Linked DNA regions of Homo sapiens: region 2 is linked to region 1. Evidence: promoter capture Hi-C in 16 types of primary human blood cells and fetal thymus (Javierre and others, 2016). All regions are on one chromosome and are shown on one strand. Each heading gives the region's core, a stretch centred on a gene start or on the middle of the fragment in contact. The rest is flanking DNA. Distances are from core to core; before and after follow the strand shown.

The links. The method cuts DNA at HindIII sites, captures the fragments that hold promoters and counts their contacts. A CHiCAGO score of 5 or more calls a contact.
Region 2: a fragment that was not itself captured here is called in contact with the fragment with the promoter of GAD2 in region 1 in 1 of 17 cell types (neutrophils); the score reaches 5.2 in neutrophils.

What each region holds. Positions count from the first base shown.
Region 1 is chr10:26,214,996-26,218,801 of GRCh38, forward strand. It overlaps GAD2 (glutamate decarboxylase 2), which reads left to right and starts at 1,779. Exons shown (of 16, transcript NM_001134366.2): 1 at 1,779-1,890; 2 at 2,615-2,674; 3 at 2,847-2,996. The coding sequence starts at 1,815. RefSeq lists enhancers at 1-493, 3,103-3,731. The HindIII fragment of the contact is 6,458 bases long and covers 1-3,806 here.
Region 2 is chr10:27,008,983-27,012,788 of GRCh38, forward strand. The region is part of intron 32 of ANKRD26 (ankyrin repeat domain containing 26); the gene reads right to left. Among named protein-coding and RNA genes, the nearest start is that of FAM238C, 69 kb to the left of the region's middle. The HindIII fragment of the contact is 2,092 bases long and covers 681-2,772 here.

The DNA.
Region 1 (3,806 bases), core at 529-3,028:
AGTTATGCTCGAGCACACAGGACTTGGGCCTGTATGCGTCCAGCATGGGCCCCAGGATGTCCCTTCTAAGCGAGGGTCGAGGGGTGCTCGCCCAGACGGGATCCCCGGGTCTCTGCTTTGTTAGCAGCTTTGGTGGCTGGTTCAGGAGGTCAGAGAAATAAAACGACTTGTGAACACAATGGAAATGACAGGCGCTCTGGCCAGGCGCGGGGAAGGCAGCCGCCTCGGGAAGCCGACCTCAGCCCTTTCCTCTCTCTCCCTCCCTCCGTCTCCCCCAGAGCCCCGGAGCTCCGAGGTGCACTTGAAGTTCATCTCCACTGCCAGGAGAACGCAGCGCAAACTGTCAAAGGGCTCCCAATCCTTAGGGCGTCCTCCCTGTCTGCAATAGCTTTTTGTAGAAAGGAAATCATCAGAACGATTCTGACTTTCTCCTCCTTTCTTTATTAGAAAAAGAGAAACCGCCTCCTAATACGCCTCAGAGAGAACCAATCTCGCGCTTCCGGGTCACCCGCTACCGCGAAGATTCTCTGGGGGCGAGGGGGGGCATTGGTTTGAAGCCCCTTAAAACGAGGGCCCTGCAGGCGATGCCTTCTTTCCTACTCGGATTTGTAAAGCCGAGATTGCTTAGTTGGAAACCCTGTTCTCCCCTCCCAGGCGCACACAGATCCCCCTTACACGCAAGCAGCGGGCGCTTCCACGCCTCCGCGGGCCAAGGTCACCAAATGCCCTGATTCCATCCCCCACCCGCCATCAATCCTGCCGACTCTGGCCGCTCTGCCTCATTCTCTTCCAAGAAGTTTCCATTCGTTTTATTTTTTTTTCCCCAGCCCGAGGTCCTCAGTAGACTCCAGCGTGGATTTTAATTGCCTCAATCAGCAGTCATTCTCCCCAGCCGTCACTCAGAGCCTGGACGGTGGGTCCCGCGATCTAGCCCTTGGCTACGCAGGAACGGTGCGCCCCCGGGTACGGCGCGGTTCAGCAGGCAGGCGTCAGGTTCTACCAAGGCGCTGAAATGAGCCCATCAGCGGGTAGGAGCCCTTCCCCCGCCGTCCCCTCCCCAGGCTCGTGAACGGCGCCTGATGCCCGCCCGGGGCGCGAGCTCTCGAGGTCGCAGTGACCTCAGCACCTGCTTGGAGGAAAACGGCGCGGGAACCCCGCTTCCTTCCCCTCAGCTGGAGCCAGACCTCAAACAAAACCCCAATCGATGCACACAGAAAACTCCTCTGGGCCACGCTTCCCGCCTCGCCGAGGTCTCCCCAGTCTGCCCCTCGCTGACGCTGGCGCGCAGCGGCTGTGGCAGCACCCGGGACAGCGGCCGCCCGCACTTCCCGCCTCTGGCTCGCCCGAGGACGCGCTGGCACGCCTCCCACCCCCTCACTCTGACTCCAGCTGGCGTGCATGGTCTGCCTCGCATCCTCACGACTCAGCTCCCTCCCTCTCTCGTGTTTTTTTCCTCCGCCGCCCCCTCATTCATCCCCACTGGGCTCCCTTTCCCTCAAATGCTCTGGGGCTCTCCGCGCTTTCCTGAGTCCGGGCTCCGAGGACCCTTAGGTAGTCCCGGTCTCTTTTAAAGCTCCCCGGCTTCCAAAGGGTTGCCACGTCCCTAAACCCTGTCTCCAGCTCGCATACACACACGCACAGACACGCACGTTTTCTGTTCCTGCGTGACACCCGCCCTCGCCGCTCGGCCCCGCCGGTCCCCGCGCGGTGCCCTCCTCCCGCCACACGGGCACGCACGCGCGCGCAGGGCCAAGCCCGAGGCAGCTCGCCCGCAGCTCGCACTCGCAGGCGACCTGCTCCAGTCTCCAAAGCCGATGGCATCTCCGGGCTCTGGCTTTTGGTCTTTCGGGTCGGAAGATGGCTCTGGGGATTCCGAGAATCCCGGCACAGGTAGGAAGGAGAACGGGGGCCTGCGGCGGGCGAGTTTTGCGGTGGTCTGGGGTTTGCGGAACTACGGAGAAGACGAAGGAGGTTTTTCCACCTGCAACAGGAAACTTCTTCGGGCGCTTCTCCCTGCTTTTGGGCTAAGTCCTTGACGGCCCAAGAGCTCAAGACCTCTACAGCCTCTTGTACCCTGGGAAGACGCCCAAATAGTCTCAGGCCCGTTCCACAGAAGGTTGGAAGAGCCCCCCAAAGACCGCGGTGTCTCGGGGACATGGAATTCCGTGGTCCTGGGGCGCTGCTAAGATCCGGGTGTCTGGACCCTGGGGTGGGACGGAGTGACCGTGAAGATAGAAAAAAAAAATGGGAAAGGTGAGAGATTTCTTTATCTAGAAAGACAGTCTGCGAAAAAATGGATAGCTTCAGTGTTTAGGAAAACTCGTCCAAGGTAGGCAGGGAGAGGAATTTGCCTGAGCCGATTGGCACCTGGAAGGGCAGCGGTGTGGGCTTCTCCTCGGGAAACAGATAAAGGAAATGAGGGCTGGCCCGGGCCGCCAGCCTCCCGCTTGCCTTCTGCACCTGCCGGCCTCACCGAGTCCTGAGCGGCCCCCAGGAGGAAGGCGGCCCCTCCTAGGACCCCGGACTGATTGATTTTCACATAGAACGAAATTTCACACGTCCGTCTGTTGTTCTCTTTCTGCCTCGCTGTCTGCCTGCCTATTCTTCCTTGCAGCGCGAGCCTGGTGCCAAGTGGCTCAGAAGTTCACGGGCGGCATCGGAAACAAACTGTGCGGTGAGTGCCCAGGGACCGGGGCGGCCAAGGTCGGCCCGCGGGGTCCAAGCAGTCTTCTCACCTCCGCATCCCAGTCAGCGGAGTCGGGGTTTCCTGGCTGCGGGTAGGCGGGAGCGAGGGAGCCGGGCCCGGCGGAGGATTGACGAGGCCCGCGTTCGGTGTCCTTACCCAGCCCTGCTCTACGGAGACGCCGAGAAGCCGGCGGAGAGCGGCGGGAGCCAACCCCCGCGGGCCGCCGCCCGGAAGGCCGCCTGCGCCTGCGACCAGAAGCCCTGCAGCTGCTCCAAAGTGGATGTCAACTACGCGTTTCTCCATGCAACAGGTAAAGACTCAGCGGGGAGCCCCGGGGCGCCCCTGCCCCTCTCTCTGCCCCGCCCACCGCGGCCGGTGCGGGTCCGGCGCTGAGAGCCGGACAGGGGCGTCGAGGTGGCAGCGGAGGCGGGACCTGCCAGAATCTTCAGATAAAAGCGAGAAATGCGGGACCTGCCCGCTGGGTCCAAGCCCCCGAACCTGGCCTCGGAGCTCCAAGAGGGCTCTGAGGCCGTGGCGCTCTTCCCCCAGCGCGGCCCTTGGGATGGCGGGTGGCCGACGATCCAGGCGCTCGTGCGCTCACTGAATCGATGACGGCTGGCTTCCCTAGGCCGCTGGGGCCTCGGGTGGGACTCAGTTTCCAAATACCGTGCCCGAGAATTCAGAATTGCATTTTTTTTAGGTCTTTAGATCACGAGAGTGATTTGTAGCTGCAATTGCACAAGAGAACGATTCCATTCACATGAAACCCGCGCGCCGAGTTTTACCCCCGTGCACTTACACACCGTCTCCCAAATGTACGCGCGCACACACACATGCAGACACACATGCATACGCTCTCTCTCTCTCTCTCACACACACACACACACACACACACACACACACACACTGACTTTAGAAACAGCGGGCCTTCCTATCAGACCAGAGATCCTAATGCACCTGTTCCACTTTGGTTTGCCCGAAGGCATTCGAGACAAACACTTCTGACGTGAAATATTTATGTAAACATGTAAGATGGTTTACTGAGAAACACGTTTAAGACGAACTCCTGTGAACTAGATAAACGGAGGTACACGCTCTTCAAAAAAAGAAGGCAAACAAT
Region 2 (3,806 bases), core at 477-2,976, 790 kb after region 1:
GCGCGCAACACCACGCCCAGCTAATTTTTGTATTTTTTAGTAGAGACGGGGTTTCACCATATTGGACAGGCTGGTCTCAAACTCCTGACCTCGTGATCCGCCCACCTGGGCCTCCCAAAGTGCTGGGATTACAGGCAGGAGCCACCATGCCTGGCCAACCCTTGAATATTTTACCACATAAATGACAGCTGAGGGCAACTACTTTTGAGAAAAGGACACCAGGTCAGACATAAAGGCTCAAAGGGAAAAGGGGCAGACCCAGAACCCAGGAGGGAGGTGCTCTGGGAGGGACACTTGAAAGCTTAGGAAAAGGGTCTTCTGTGTTGACAAGTCTGGTTTTGTCCTGGTTGGTGGGAAACTGGGATGGTTTTACCTATATTAAAAGTGAAAACTGGCAAACATTAAATGACTTTGAAAAAGTCCCTTTCATTTTATTCCTAATTTCCCATTAAATCACACATTTTCCTCATATTTCCCTTAATACAAATTTAAAATTATTGTCTCCAGTTAAATAACTTAACACAGTGCCTGATACAGACTATGGAAGAAAAAAGGAGAGAAAAATGTCTTGGTGACATTAATAACTGTCCTATTGAGGTAGACAAGGTGCCATCGATGGTTTTTGAAATGTATAGAGCAATAGCTTAGGAGAAACTGAACACTGCTAGAGGAAATTAAAAAGCTTAATAAATTACTAATCTCTTACGCTAATAATTTAATGCATAATACAAAATCGAAAGCTATTATGGAGTAAAATAAATAAACTACGTTTTATAAAAATGCTCCTCCTTTCTCTGTGGACTTTGTTTATTTCCAGGTGGGGGTTATGCTTCAGGTGGCGGAGGCAGCCTGAGGTCCAACATTAATAAAGGGAGCACATCTGCAACTTCATGTATACTTTTTCATTTTAAAATATAAGAATAGGAGAAAATTATAAAAGAACAATGTACCAACAAGTTTTGGCTAATTAGAAGGATTCTTTCATAACCAGTAGTTTTCAAACTATGTCCCACAGAAATCTAAGGTTCTACAGAGGATATTGCAGGATTAAGGGATAAGGAAGTCACAGCTTCAGAGCCCCTACCTGTCCTTTAGCCAGAGAGCTCTACTTCTATCTGTTTTATGTAATATAGTTTCATGCCATTTTTTAAAAGTTCTATTCTTTCAAAAAAATTTTTTTAATGTATGAAAGTCACTTGACCTGACAGAATGGTTCTTTTTAATCTCTTTTGTTAAATCTAACATGGTTTGGCAAACCAGTGCCCCACAAAGAAACCATGTATACCAATGGAATATTTTTCAGCTTATCTAGAAATACTAAAAATAAACACCTCCTTGCTCCCCAAAAAAATCAATTAAGGAAAAACATTTCCTCAAAAATCTTCCCTTACATTGCGTATCTACATATTCTTTCATCATCTTATAAAATGTTGTTACCTGAGTTTTCTGGTAGGAACTAATGAGAAAATTTTATATTTGCATCATGCTTAGTAAGTTACAGAAGGTTTTTTGTTATTGTTTTGGATTTTTTGAGACAGGGTCTCACTCTGTCATCCAGGCTGGAGTGCAGAAGCACGATCATAGCTCACTGTAGCCTTGAGCTCCTGAGCTCAAGTGATTCTCCTGCCTCAGCCTCCCAAGAAGCTGGGACTACAAGCGTGCACCACCATGCCCAGCTAATTTTTTTTAATTTTTTGTAGAAATGAGATCTCACTATGCCTCACTATGTTTCCCAGCCTGGTCTTGAACTCCTGAGCTCAGGTGATCTTCCTGCTTCGGCCTCCCAAAGTGTTGGGATTATAGGCATGAACCATTGCACCCGGCCTACACAAGTATTTGACATTCATTTTCTTTTTGTACCCAGTAGGAAAATTTCATGACTCTGAAGCATTTAGACCCTGATCATCTCATTGTCAGAAAAATAAGACAAAACTAAGCTAACAAAATGATGAAAAAAATTAGCTGGATAGATCTTATAATTTATGTATTAAAACAATCATTTGATTTGTTCCTTGTTAAGCCACTTGGCTGCAGTGCTGTCTAAGAAACCTTAGACTTGGTCTTCTATGATTTGTTAGGACATGAGGCCTGGTAAAGAAACAAGGTTGAGGTCTCATTTAACATGAGTCTACACTTTTTTTCTCTGCATTAAGATCATGAAAATACCATTAAATCTTAAGCTAACGTGCACTGATTAAAATGGATATTTTCATAATGATACACAACAAAAACTAGTTGCTATTTATTTATTTTTGTTCAAACAAATGTTTTATGCTTCTTGTAATTTTTTAAGAGACAGGGTCTTGCTATGCTGCCCAGGCTGGAGTGCGGCTGCTATTCACAGTTGCAGTAAAAACACATTACAACCTTAAACTCTTGGGCTCAAGCAATCCTCCTGCCCCAGCCTCCCAAGTAGCTGGGATTACAAGTGTTCACCATTGCAACCAGCTTTTGTAATTTGTTCCCCCAGTCAAAAATGGTCAAAAGTTAGACAAGTATCTTAAACTGGATCAAGCATAGTTGATTTTTTTTTTCCCTACCAAGTCTACAATTGATAAAACTTGTCATTGTTGAATTCATCTTGAGATCCCCAGAAATGAAGTCGTACTATGAGTGAAATCGTAAGGCTGGATTGCAAGGTTCCTCTTCAATGGGTTTTCTATTGTTCTAGAAGAGCAAGACAAAACTAAGCTAACAATATGAACATAATATTGGCTAGCTAGGACCTTGTTACTGTAAAGCTAGGATCCAGGGGAGATGAGGACCCTGTGAAGCTTAACATGAAATTCTGGGTAGGAAGAAAATAATTGTTTGATCATACTTACTAAACACTCTTGATATCACTGCCATCTTAGACATCAATCATTCAAGTAATGGCACAAGTGCATTTTTTAAATTCACATATTTGCTTGCTTTAACTATTTAAAAACCACTGTGCAATTGCCCAGTAATAGACACATTTTACAAAAATTGAGAGAAAAATGCTGTAACAATAGCAACTAAGAATGTACTCCTAAGTAAGAAAATGACAAAACTTAAAAATACAAATTAATCAGTGTTAGAGTTTGTTTAATTCATAAGAAGTATTTATCTTGGAGTTCTTTAAGTAATAAATTTCCATATGTGGTTAAGTGTTTGGATGCCAATCATTCATTCACTTATGATTAAGGGTGGAACACTTGAGATGGTGCCAGAAAACTATCAAAGTGCTATCAACCACAGCCAAACTCAAATCCATTAGAAGGAAAGCCAAAGTATCTCAACGTATACCTTTTGCTATCAGGCAATAGGCAATAATATTCCATTTCTAATAAATTCAGCTTTTAAAGAAATTTAAAATGTGACAGTTCAGTTACATTTATTGAATAAAGTTAACAAATGGTACCTCTTGAAAATGAGAGCTCTAGGGACTAAAAAAAAAAAAAACTAAAATTTCTGTTTCCTCACTTTATTAGCACAGATAATTATGACCTTTACTTATCAAGCATAAGTCAATTAAACAACTCGGTATTTCACCAAATTAAAAACAAGAATTATATCAGAAATTTGAGGCTGGGCATGGTGGCTCACACCTGTAACCCCAGCACTTCGGGAGGGTGAGGCAGGCAGATCATTTGAAACCAGAAGTTTGAGACCAGCCTGGCAATATGTGAAACCCAGTCTCTACTAGAAATATAAAAATTAGCTGGGTGTGGTGGCACACACCTGTAATCCCAGCTATCTGAGAGGCTAAGACACAAGAATTGCCTGAACCTAGACATAGAGGTTGCAGTGAGCCAAGATGGCACCACTGCACTCCAGCCTGG